3 separate regions of the Homo sapiens genome follow, and all the other regions are linked to region 2. The links are contacts of gene promoters, found by promoter capture Hi-C in blood cells and fetal thymus (Javierre and others, 2016). All regions are on one chromosome and are shown on one strand. Each heading gives the region's core, a stretch centred on a gene start or on the middle of the fragment in contact. The rest is flanking DNA. Distances are from core to core; before and after follow the strand shown.

Evidence for each region. Contacts are between HindIII fragments. The CHiCAGO score rates a contact against its expected background, and 5 or more counts as called.
Region 1: a contact is called between the fragment with the promoter of CCAR2 here and the fragment with the promoter of CHMP7 in region 2, in 4 of 17 cell types (fetal thymus, activated CD4 T cells, total B cells and 1 more). The highest score is 8.5, in fetal thymus.
Region 3: the fragment with the promoter of BIN3 here is called in contact with the fragment with the promoter of CHMP7 in region 2 in 3 of 17 cell types (neutrophils, fetal thymus and naive CD4 T cells); the score reaches 11.6 in neutrophils.

The regions. Positions count from the first base shown.
Region 1 is chr8:22,602,524-22,606,648 of GRCh38, forward strand. CCAR2 (cell cycle and apoptosis regulator 2) reads left to right here and starts at 2,234. Exons shown (of 21, transcript NM_001393997.1): 1 at 2,234-2,319; 2 at 3,213-3,308; 3 at 3,562-3,653; 4 at 4,084-4,125. The coding sequence starts at 3,251. It overlaps C8orf58 (chromosome 8 open reading frame 58), which reads left to right. Exons shown (of 7, transcript NM_001013842.3): 6 at 14-120; 7 at 672-1,619. The coding sequence ends at 783. It overlaps LOC107986876 (a long non-coding RNA gene), which reads right to left and starts at 2,477. Exons shown (of 1, transcript NR_160769.1): 1 at 610-2,477. RefSeq lists enhancers at 1,952-2,061, 2,068-2,568 and silencers at 2,232-2,531, 2,592-2,651. The HindIII fragment of the contact is 4,257 bases long and covers 1-3,882 here.
Region 2 is chr8:23,241,605-23,245,603 of GRCh38, forward strand. It overlaps CHMP7 (charged multivesicular body protein 7), which reads left to right and starts at 2,033. Exons shown (of 11, transcript NM_152272.5): 1 at 2,033-2,240. RefSeq lists an enhancer at 1,725-2,226. The HindIII fragment of the contact is 15,350 bases long and covers 1-3,999 here.
Region 3 is chr8:22,667,843-22,671,883 of GRCh38, forward strand. It overlaps BIN3 (bridging integrator 3), which reads right to left and starts at 1,279. Exons shown (of 9, transcript NM_018688.6): 1 at 1,202-1,279. The coding sequence starts at 1,209. RefSeq lists a silencer at 979-1,138 and enhancers at 1,002-1,631, 1,389-1,448. The HindIII fragment of the contact is 6,679 bases long and covers 74-4,041 here.

The DNA of each region.
Region 1 (4,125 bases), core at 984-3,483, 640 kb before region 2:
ATCCTCTGCTCAGCGGGATATCTCCCACTGGGACAAGGTCAAGGTCCTGCTCAACCGGATCTGCCGGAGAAGCCACCACCACCCTGAGCCCCCTGCCCCTCCTGATGGCTCTGACCCCAGGTGAGCCCCGTGCCCAGCCCAGGTTAGGGCACGGAGAGGAGACTGATAAGCCAGGATGCTGAGATTGTCATGCCAGTTGTCATTATTGTCCCCGCAAAACTTGAGAGGCAGTCTGGGAGGGGCTGCTAGAAGAAACAGTAGTTAAAACACCCCATTTACAGATAAGGAGGCAGGGTTCTGGGTGGGGTTGGGGGTAGTTGCTTTTCCAAAGCCGCACGGTGAGTCAGTGACAGCTAGGACCAGAATGTGGGAAATCTGCCTACCCTAGCTCAGCAACCCCTCACCCTCAATGCTGACATTTAGGCCACCTTCCAGGTTCGTGGGGAGAGCAAGGTGGAGCACAAAGGATTTCACAGTGGGTGAAGGCCATCATGCTTCGGGGCTTGTATTGAATCGTTCTCCAGGAGGAAGAAATACCAAGTCATTTAACAGCCCCGGGCTGCGCCCACACCCAGCTACCCACCAGCAGATAAACCACGTTCTCTCAACTCTAGGGCCATTGTTAGTTTTATTTCCCCCTTCTAGCCTAATGTCTTCTTTTCATTCCACAGGATCGAGTCCAGGGACCTCCCTGAAAGGCCTCAGTGCCGCCCCCACCGGAAGACCTTTATGCCATCATTAGTGGTTAAGAAGCAACGAGCAAAAAACCTTTCTGTAGGCTGAGACCTCTCGGTGCACCTGGTGACCCTGGGTGGAGGGGACTTGCTGTGAAGTCTTCCTCGCCCTCTGCCCTCTTGCTGCTTCTCCACATTGCCAGGAAAAGCTGCTGACGCCTGCCCTCCTCTCTTGAGTCGAGGGCTGAATCTTTCTCCTCTAAGCAGTCTGGTCAGGAACCTTGGTTTCTTGAGAGGCCCCCAAGATGCCGCAGCTCCAGGGCTCTTCCTCCTCACCAGAAATCCCTGGGCTTCCACAATGTGAACTCACTCATTGTCAGGTGTCCGTGGAGTGTTTTTGGCATGGTGACCTGTCTGGGCCCAGCATGTTGCAGATGTGTATTTATGCGCAATGGTATGCATATCTCTGTGTGACTGTCAGTGTTGCAAGCTGGCTGGATCCAACCATCTCTTCTGAAATAATGCATCCAAAGGGTTGATATTCTGGGGGAGGTCACTGCAGAAGGATGGAACTGACCTTTATTCCCCAGTGGGCAGTTACTGAGCTTTCCTCCTCAGAGCCATGCTGGCAGCCCTGGGACAGAGAACGGTGTGGCTTTGGCTGCCTCTGCATGGAATCTTGCCCCGGACTCCTGAAGACTGCACAAGGAATGAGGAAGATCAGGGACAACCTGGGAACTGAATAACTTTCAAAGCCAGTGCTCAGCTTCTCTGCTCCGTACTAGCGTTTACAGGTCTTAATTCAAACCAGATGCCTGTACTAGTTTTTAGACCCCAAGTCAACCTTTCTGAGCCACAGCTTCCCGCTGGGAATAATGATGCCTGCCCTATCTACCTCACAGACTTGTTATGAGGATAAAGTGAGATTAAACTGCCTCAAAGTGCTTTGTAAACCTCAGGTGAATAGGAAAGGGGAAAGTAAGGCTGGAGTGATGATGGGGAGGTCGGAGGATAAGGGGGGGCTGGGATTGCTAATGGGGACTAAAATGGCCAGTCTCCTGGCAAGATTTTGAGCAGGTCATTTCATTGAGGCCTCTTAGATTTCATATTTGAGAATTAGGGCACTGATTCCTGACTGGCTAGGCATGGTGGTCACTGGCTTGAGTCAGACCAGGAATGTCTCTTAGAAATGGTCACTGATAGGCATCCTTCTCCTCCAGTCAGGAGGGGCTGGTTTCCTTATCTGTTGCAGTCTCGACTGCCAGAGGGAGGCGAGCGTGGTAGGCAGTCGGGGGTCCCTTGTGTTTGGGGGGCCCAGCTCCCGCTTCCTTTGAGCCCGGAACCAATGATCCGAAGCCTTCTTTCCTGATGGGATTCTTTAGCGAGGACACTACCGAGGCGCGACTTCCTGACGCGCATCCGATCCGGGAAGGCGCACTTCCGCTCCCCAGTTGCCGCGGGATGGCAAGCCGGCGTGGGGGAAGGGAGAGGTCGGCGGAGACGAGGGAGGGACCATATCCGGGAGAGCGGCAGCTTCCGACCAGTGGTCGCGCTTCCGGAGAGGCGCTTCCGGTGGCGGCGGCAGCAGCGGCTGTGGTGGTTCCGGGTGTCTTTGTCCCCCCGGTGTCGCTGCCCTGGCCCGCAGGTGGGTTGGGGGGCCCCCTGCCGCCCCTCTGCCCCTTCGCCCCTCCGCCCCTCCGCTGGCCGAGGGGCTGCGAGGGCCGGGCGGCGAAGATGCGTGGGGCGCGGAAGGGGCCGAGCCCCTCTTTGGACTGCAAGTCCCGTCTCCCTGGCAACGGCCTCGGCCTTGGGGGCGGGCGGGAGGAGGAGAAACCGCGCGCCTCAGTCCTCCCTTGGTGGCCTCGCCGCGGCTCTGCTGGGAGACCCGGCGCTGGCGGCTGCTGAGGCCGGAGCGGAGGGCCCGGGAGCGTGGGAGCAGGAGGGTGGCGCGCAGCCGGTTTCGCGTTTGGTCGGCCAGGGAGCTGCCTTCCCACCAGCCGGTCGAGGAAACAACGGGTCGGGCTTCCGGGGAGAGGGCCCACACAGTCTCCTCGCCGGCACCGGCCTCCTCCATTTTTCCGGGCCTTGCGTGGAGGGTTTTGGCGGATGTTTTTGAACGAAGGAATGTCATCGGGGCTCTCTCGAGCCCCTCACCCCGCCAGCTACTCTGGGGGTGGCGTGGCATAGTGAGAGGAGCGCTAAGTTGTTGGGAGGCCTGGGTGTGAGTAGCAGTTTTGTCACTACCTGGTTATGTGGCCCCGGGCAAGTCTCTTGATCTCTCTGAGCATCAGTTTCCTTGTCTGTAAAACAGCATGACAGTATCATGCACCACTAGGTTATTGTCAGGGCAAACTGGAACAATGTAATTTCTTGTTTCATTTCTTTCTTCTCTATATTCTCTCCATCCATTGCTTTCATTCATTCTTATTACCCACCTCCCTGTTTTCCGAAATATCCTTACTTAAGATTCTCCACTTTTCCGGGTATAGATGGAAATTTCCCTTATAAGCTGTTAATTTCTTTCTTTTTGGATTGAAGCCTTTTCCCCACGACTCTGAAAGAGGACAGCGTTCCCAATGTCCCAGTTTAAGCGCCAGCGGATCAACCCGCTTCCAGGGGGACGCAACTTCTCAGGTGATCACTGTTCTCCCTACCTGGCCTCATCCTGGGAAGTATGTGCTCTGGAGTTAGTTTGGGGTTTCCCTGGTGGAGAGCAATTTGCTGCTGATGTTCCTCTGGAAAGCAGGAGATGCCCACAGTGATTGCCAGTGAAGCTCTGTGGAGGAGCTGGCTGGAGCTGTAGCCTTTGGATTTACCACATCCTTTGGTTGACTCGTGCTTAAGGTGGTAGGGGCGGTTCCTGGAGATTGCTTCTCTTTCCCCATAGGCACAGCTTCAACATCTCTTCTGGGCCCTCCTCCTGGTTTGCTCACTCCTCCTGTGGCCACAGAACTGTCCCAGAATGCCAGGCACCTTCAGGTAGGTTCGGCATCCCTTGTAGTAAGTTTCAGCCCTTGGGACTGAATGCATGGAGGCCTGGTGCTCTTTTTCTCTTACATAATAGTGTTTATCATTCCTGATCCCTCTCCTGGTAGTGGGCTAGTATGGGGTTGCCCAGATAGCCTTCAGACTGGGGCATCTTCATTTCTCGCTCCAGGGAAATCTTTAGCTTACGTCTTGGAATTAATGAACTGGAAATCCCAGAAGAAGCTTGTGGGTCAAGAACCAGCTCAAACATGCCCCAACCCCTAATGATGGAGTATGCCCACCACACCTGTACTTCACTCTGTGCGAACTCTTGATGCAGTACGCTGAGCTGGGGCGTGGGTTGAGATGAGACCTTCATGGCAGAGTGTGATTTTGTCCAGTTTCCTCCCTTTTACTTTTCAGCTGTCTCCTTCTCTTACAGGGTGGGGAGAAACAGCGGGTCTTCACTGGTATTGTTACCAGC
Region 2 (3,999 bases), core at 783-3,282:
CACCAGCGTCGGCCTCCCAAAGTGCTGGGATTACAGGTGTGAGCCACCGCGCCGGACCAATACTTGGTACTTCTGAAATAGCAGCAATTTGTCCTAGCTGAAATATAATAATAAAATTTTGAATTTTTTTTTTTTGAGACAGAGTCTTGCTCTGTCGCCAGGCTGGAGTGCAGTGGCACGATCTTGGCTCACTGCAAACTCTGCCTCCCGGGTTCAAGCGATTCTCCTGCCTCAGCCTCCTGAGTAGCTGGGACTACAGGCGCGTGCCACCACACTCGGCTAATTTTTGTATTTTTAGTGGAGACGGGGTTTCACCATGTTAGCCAGGATGGTCTCCATCTCCTGACCTCATGATCCGCCCGCCTGGGCCTCCCAAAGTCCTGGGATTACAGGCATGAGCCACTGCACCCAGCCCAAGATTTTTTATTTTTAAAGACACTCAATAGTTAAAAGTCAACTTAATTAAAAGCTAATATTTAAAATGTATGTGTATGTGTATGTGTGCATAAGTGCATGTTCATATTTAAAAGGCCTTCATGGTTTTGTTTTTGTTTTTCTCTGCTAGGACCTTGTCTTTTTTTGAGCAAAAACTTTTTTTGTTCTCAATTGACTCAATTCTGTTTCCACTCGATTTTTTTTTTTTTTTTTACTAAAATAGTTATTGCAACAGAGGCTACTCTTGGGTTTTTAAGAAAGAGTATAGTTTAGACACTTAGAAATGCTTTGTTTACAAAAATGTTTTAAGTGCACTGTAAAAGCATCATGTGGTCTAGCCTCATAATAATTCTCCCTTTTTGGAGACCCAGGATTCAGTGTGGGCTCTGCCCAGAGCTCAGAGATCCAGTTAAAAAAGAATTGGTAGTCCCTATCTAAATAACAGTGGTCTCCTTATACAATCCAGTGATAAATTTCTATAATTTTATGTTCAATTGGCAATTAAATCTGTTTTAATTTCCCTCTAGCTCACAGAATTTCTCTTCAGACCTTATAATGTAAATTTTGCTATCTGACTTTCACCTGAGTTGTTTCCTTTAATATGCAAATTTAAGACTATTTAGCTGACTACTGCCTAGCACTGTGAAACAGGTTATCAAGAATCTGAAAGTCTAAGATAAAGAAAAAAGGTTTTTATGAATCTGTAAGATGTACTTCTTCTATCAGCATGCCTAATACATCTATGTATTTATATGTTATGTATACAATGTTGCACTCCTGAAAATATATCAAAGAGCTCTAATTAATTGTCTTAAAAAATAAAAGCATTTACATCAAATACTTTATTAGAAAAAGGAAAGACTAGTCAAATGCTTTTTCAAGTTATGTGACTTAAGTAAAATCTTTAATAAATAAGCTATCTTTAAAATTATTGGTAAAGTAATATTAGAAATGTCTTAGGAATTGCCAGCATACATTTTTATTTGCGTTTATTAATCAAGCAATTTCATACTTAACCCTGCCAAATACTATTAGGTGTCAAAATTTGGCACAGGCTATAAACCCAGCCCAAGACAGAATGATCTCTGCTCGTGTAACCATTAATAAATAAGACATTGATACTGGTTTAATGAAAATAGCTACATCTTGATTTAGTAAAATTACCATAACTTCTAATCTTGTGGCAGTCTAGGCAGTCTAGTCCACAGGCAGTAAGGAGTTTTGTTTTGGGAAAGGACTGTTATACTTTGTTTCAAAGTTAAACTATAAGTAAACTTGCATGGGAAGAGAATGTTTAATTTTGTGAAAAACGACCAAACTGTCTTCCAAAGTAGCTCTTAGAGACAACCTGTCCACAGAAGAACGCAGCAAGCCCCCTCCCCTAAATGCCCTGCAGCTTATTTCTTCTGAGATGCTGCCCCTACTTCACGTTACCAGAACTTAGGTACAGCTGTATCCACCCCCAGGCCAAACCACATCCTGGTACTCTAAGCCAGGTGGGGCAAGAAGTGACAAACAACTGCAGGATGTAGACTAACCTCAGAAAGCCCCTAGGCCCTCAAAGCCCTATATAAGTCCCTCACCTTAAACACCCTGGGCTGCCTCCTCTGACTGTTATGCAGCAGGCCGGCAGGTCAATAAACTTGCTTGCCTGACTTTGAGTATACTCGTCTTTTCTCTTGGCCAACCTTACGGTAGCTGTACCAGTTTGCATTTCCACCAGCAATGAATGAGAGTTCCTGTTGCTCTGCATCCTCACCAGCATTTGGTGTGGTCAGTATTTTGGATTTTCACCATTCTAATAGGTGTGTAGTAGTATGCTATTCTTGTCTAATTTGCTGTTCCCCAATGACATATGATGTTGGGCATATTATCATATACTTATTTGCCGTTGGTAGATCTTCTTTGGTGAGAGGTCTGCTCAGATCTTTTATCCATGTTTTAACTGGGTTATTCTTTTTCTTTTTTTTTTGAGTCTTAAGAGTTCCTCGTGTGTTTTGGATAACAGTCCTTTATCAGAGATGTCTTTTGCAAATAGTTTCTACCAGTCTGTGGCTTATCTTCACATTCTCTTCACAGTGTCTTTCAGAAAGCAAATAATAATAATAATAATAATTACGTCTAATTTATCAATTATTTCTTTCATGGATTATGCTTTTTGTGTTGTATCTAAAAAGTAATCATGATGCCCAAGGTCATCTAGATGTTTTGTCTTCTAGGAGTTTTATTGTTTTGTGTTTTTACATTTAAGTCCATGATCCATTTGAGCTGGCTTTTGTGAATGGTGTAAGATCTGTACCTGGATTTGTTTTTGTTTTTGCATGTAGGTGTACAGTTGTTCCAGTGCTCATTGTTGAAAAGACTCTTTGAACCATTGTATTGCCTTTCTTTTTTCGAAAGGTCAGTTGACTGTATTTACATGTGCCTATTTCTGGGATTCCTATTCTGTTCCATTTATCTATTTGTTTATTCTTTAACTAATACCACACTATCTTGATTACTGTTGATTTATAGTAATTCTTGAAGTTGGGTTGTATCCGTCCTCTGACTTATTTGTTCAATATTGTGTTGGCTCTTCTGGGTCTTTTGCCTTTCCACATAAACTTTAGAATTAGTTTGTTGATATCCACAAAATAACTAGCCATGATTTTCACTGGGATTTCACTGGATCTACAGATCAATTTGGGAAGAATTGATATCTTGATAATATTGAGTTTTCCTGTCCATGAATATAAAATGCCTCTGTATTTATTTAGTCCTTCATAGATTTCTTTCATCAGAATTTTGTAGTTTTCCTTATGTAGAATTTGTACATACCGTGTTAGATTTATACCTAAGTTTTATAGGGGGGTGCTAATGTAAATGGTATTGCATTTTTAATTTCATATTCCACTTGATCATTATAGGTATATGGGAATTGACTTTTATACATTAACTTTGTATCTGCAATCTTGTTCTCATTGCCTCTTAGTTCCAGGACATCGATTTGGCAATTCTTTCATAATTTTCTGCATGGATAATTATGTCTTCTATAAAGACAGACCATTTTATTTCTTCCTCTTCAGTCTGTACAACTTTTATTTCTTTTTCTTGGCTAACTGTGTTAGCTAGGATTTCCCGTACAGTGTTGACTAGGAATGGTGTGAGCAGACATTCTTGTGTTATTCCTGATTCCACTGGAAAACGATCTAGGTTTTCACCATTAATTCTTATGTTGGCTGTAAGGTTCCTGTTTATGTTCTTTATCAAGTGGAGGATGTGTCCCTCTATTCCTAGAGTGCCGAGACTTTTTATCATGAGCTGGTGTTGGATTTTGTCAAATGCTTTTTCTGCATCTAGCAATATGATCATATGATTTTTCTTTAGTCTGTTGGTGGATTATATTAATTGATTTTTGAACATTGAACTAGCCTTGCCTAGCTGTAATAAATTCCGCTTTAACCTGGTGTACAATTCTTTTGATACATTGTGGGTTTCAATTTGCTAACATTCTATTGATGATTTTTGCATCTATATTCACAAGATATATTGTTTTGTGTTTTTTCTTTCTTGTAATGTCTTTGT
Region 3 (4,041 bases), core at 29-2,528, 570 kb before region 2:
TTTTACTTTAGAGAAGTATCCCTGACACTGACTGATATCAGCTGCTTGCGTTCTCCACTGATGGCCAAAATTAAGCTTCAAAAGCCTTCCTGAAGGACATTCTGTTATCTTAATTCATTCATAACTGGTTATCATGCGCTTTGCATAAACAAACACACTAGCCTCTGAGGACAGAGTGGCAAATATGTTCCCTATGTCCATGGGCTGATTAATCTTGTACATCTCTGGGGCTCAATTTATTCACACACTATAGTTGAATCCCCTGAGGTCCAGGGTTGTGGCTATATAGGTCCTTGGGCCTGACGGTAAGGTAAGGTGCTGCATATGAGTATTCTCTAACCTCTAAGAAAGCCCCAGGAAGGCAGGCAAGTCACAATTCTCTCCTGTGAACATAAATAATCGAGAGCAACAAATGGGGATTGCCTTTTGGGCAAACTGAGTCTTACAAAATAAATACACCATTATGAAGTGTCTACTATGACCCAAGTATCACATCATACTGCAGCAACTGGAATTGTGACTCTATTACTCTAAGACTCCCTGGCTTCTTTTCTCATGGCATGATAGTTCCCATAAGTTTAAACTTAACCATGCCTATTTAGAGGGCAGGCAGTGAGTAATAGCTCTGGAATGATTAAAACCAGTCCAATCCCACAGTGGAAGGGTGTGTGCGGAGTGTAATTCTGGCCCCTTTAAAAAGAGAAGCAAGTTTTCCTTGTCTTTTGAAGCCTGCTAAGTCGTGCAAAGAGGATAGTTACCCAGAAGGGAGTGGGTTTTGATTAGTGAACTGGGTCCAGGCTGCCACAGCGAGGGCCACAGCTCTGGAGGGACTGGCGCGGGGCAGAGATGCCCACAGGAGAGAAAGACGACACTGACTCCACCTCAATGGGTGTTTAAAAAAGGAGGGAACAAGGAAGTCCCTCACTTCAAGGAGCTAGGAGGACGCGAGTCCGGCAAAACGGGTCAGACGCGGAGTCCCAGGCTAAGAGGATCATCCGCCACTCTCCCCGGGAGTCCTGCTGAGAGACTGCGACTCCGGAAAGCACCGAGGGAACGACCCTAGGGCAGGGGCTGTCGGGCCTTGCTCTGGGGCGGAGGGGTCGCGCGGGACCGGAGGGAGCCGGGACGCGGCACTGACACAGGGCCAGGGGCCTCGCGGGTCCGCGGGTCCAGCAGCTCCCGCCGCCTGGGCCTCACTCACCAGCTCATGGTCCCGAACCTGCGTCTGCCGCCGGGGTCCTCAGCCACAACTCGTTTCTCTAGGGTCACTTCCGGATTCAACCAGTCTCCAGGAAGTGACGTAAGCCCGCCTCTCTGCCCGGAAGAGGCGGTTGGGAGGCGGAGCCCGGCGCGTTAACCCTTCTGCTGCTGCGTGCTCGCCGCGGAGTTTCCCTTGCCGGCGACTCTCTGGCTCTGGCCAAGCGCTTAGACACACAGGCTGCAACGGGGGATGAGGGGAACCTCTGGGGGCGTTTTCTGCCTTCAACACTGACTCCTAAAGATCTCTTCACCTGACCATGCAGGGCCCTTAGCCGGGCTGTCCCCTCTGTCAAGTGGTTTCTAATCCAGAGACAGTGGCAGCAATTGTCTGTGGGAGAAGAAGCCATTTGGGATGGAGAAAGTGGAAAACTTACATTCTCTGAATGCTCTTTCCTATCTTTTACAGTTTGTACACCACACATGCATTACCTGTTACAAACAAACGGACGTTTCCCTTCCAAGATGGCACAGGGCTCTGAATATCAATAGATAGGTGCTTTTCAGGTTGGAATGTTTCCTAGAGTTATTCAACACAATAAGACGCAGAGTATGAGTTGTTCCCTGCCTTTCAGCCCTTCCCTTTGGTCTCCTCTACAGGACTCAAATGATGTAAATTGCCCCATTCGTTCTATTCCTTCATTTAACTAATACTAGTTGCACTAATATTAGTGTCAGGTACCGAGCCAACCTTAGGATACAGCTATCTCAGAGAAGTATCTGCCCTGCTCTTGTTCCTTCCCAGAGCTACTTTCCTGGAGGGAGAGACAAGCAGGCAATTATAATCATGCTATAGGATAGGATAGAATGAGGTGTGGTGGCAGCCTAGAAGGGGACCCTGAAGTAGCACATGGGGTTTTGGGGAAGGCTTCCAGGAGGAGCCAGTGTGTAAGCCAAGCCCTGAAGGCAGAATCGGGGCTAGCCAGGTGAATCTGAGATGAGGGGTGACGAGGCTCCAGGCAGAGGGAACTTACCATGGCTAAGACACAGACAGGACCAAGCAAGCAGCTGACTTGCCTCGGGTCTCCCAAAGTCAGAATTCAGGGCCTTAGTGGCTCACAAGTTGCCTGGGATTCTGGGCCGACTTGGTTTCCTCACCGCTAAGTACCTCCCTGCCTTGGAAGAGAGACAAGAAGGCAGTGAGGCCCGTGCAGGTGCTGCTGGGCCCCCAGTGACCTTCTCTCTAGGAATTCTCCTTCCTCAGATGGACCGGGATTGTTTCAGGGACTGCTTAGGGGGTTGCTAATCAATGACCTAGCGGGAAAAATATGACCAATGACCTAGAGCAGAAGTAGTGTATGATTTGTTTTGACCTCCTAGGGTGGAGTAGAGGGCTTGAGCAGGAGAGGTAGGAGGGTGGGCCACAGGATGCAGTCTCTCATTTGTGTTTTCTGTTTCCATTCTTGAGAGTCCATAGTTTGACTCAATTGACGTTTCCAATGGAGGTTGGATCCCCAAGCACATCATGCAGATCAGCTTCATTACCATGTTGTTCCTCAGGAAACAGGCCAAAATGAGCACAAGAGCAGCCTTGAAGAGTAAAGAGGAAGAGCAGAAGTCACCAAAGGGTAGCCTGGGCAGAGAGTGTGGGTAAAGGGAAAGAGAGAGTCCTTGCTGCTTTGCAGAGAGTGTGACGGATGGAAGGGCTGTTGTGGGTTTAGGAGCCTCCTGGCAGTTAGCACCTGTGAATAGTTTTCCCACCTGCTTCCTCCCTTCCCCATGTTCTGCCTCCCTCAGTTATGCCCCACAGGGATAAATATTTCCAAACGTTTTAGCCTAGGTAACTGCTATATCCTAGTAGAAGTCTGTTTCAGGGCTGGAGGGCAGCAGACACATCCTAGAGGACTAGAATGGATAAGTTCTGGACTACAAGTCTGGAGGAGTCTGCGGCTCTATTTCCAGTTCAACCTTTGACACTATAACTGACCTCAGATAAGTCACATCCCCTTTGTGGCCTTAGTCCCCTCATCTATAAGATGGAGTGGGTAGATCACATCCCAAAGTATCCAACATTGCAAGGTTCCAAGTCAGCTGTCTTGTTGACTCTAGAGGCCCTAGGGAAATAGGAGAATGGGAAAGGCAGGTGAACAGAGGGGCAAGCCCAGAGAAGTGGGCAGGTCTGAGGAACTGGTGATATCTTGGATAAAGCTAAATATGAATTTTTCTGGGGCTGTGCTGTTGACAGGTCACCTCGAAATCTTTAATGCAGCCAGCAGGATCTTTGAGGTTACTAAAAAGAATGGTGTCCTCCCAGGAGTCTGTCTGGAATGTGCCTGCTTGGTCTCCTTACCTGTGGCTCATTCGCTCAGCTAGAGGGGCACTGGGCTGAGGAGGGACAGTCAGGCATCCTGCTATCCTGTGTTCCTCCATGAGCCTGCTGTGCCATGAGGCATTGATCCCTGGGGAGCTGAACATGGAGACACACAAACACTTCCCACTGTTGTGAAAAACTCAGCCTGCAGGGTCGGGAGCTATGTCTTTCTTATTTATAACCAAAGGGACAGCATGATACAGATTGATCCTGCCCCTGCAGGGAAGGAATGGAAAAGAGAAAATTGGGTTTCTAAGTAGAAGCTGAGAGTGGAGGCGCTTTGGGTAGAGGTGGATACTCCTGGTTTCAAGCCTTGTAAATACTGATTCTTCCCCAGAAGTCTGAGCCTGAAGGTAAAAGACTGTTCAGGTGGCAGAGGTCTACTTCTGGGACAAAGCTGTTTACGAGGGGAAAAGCAGCAGCAGAACCTGCTCCACCATCAGCCCCCAACTTTTCCTTGGAGGTTTTTGCTC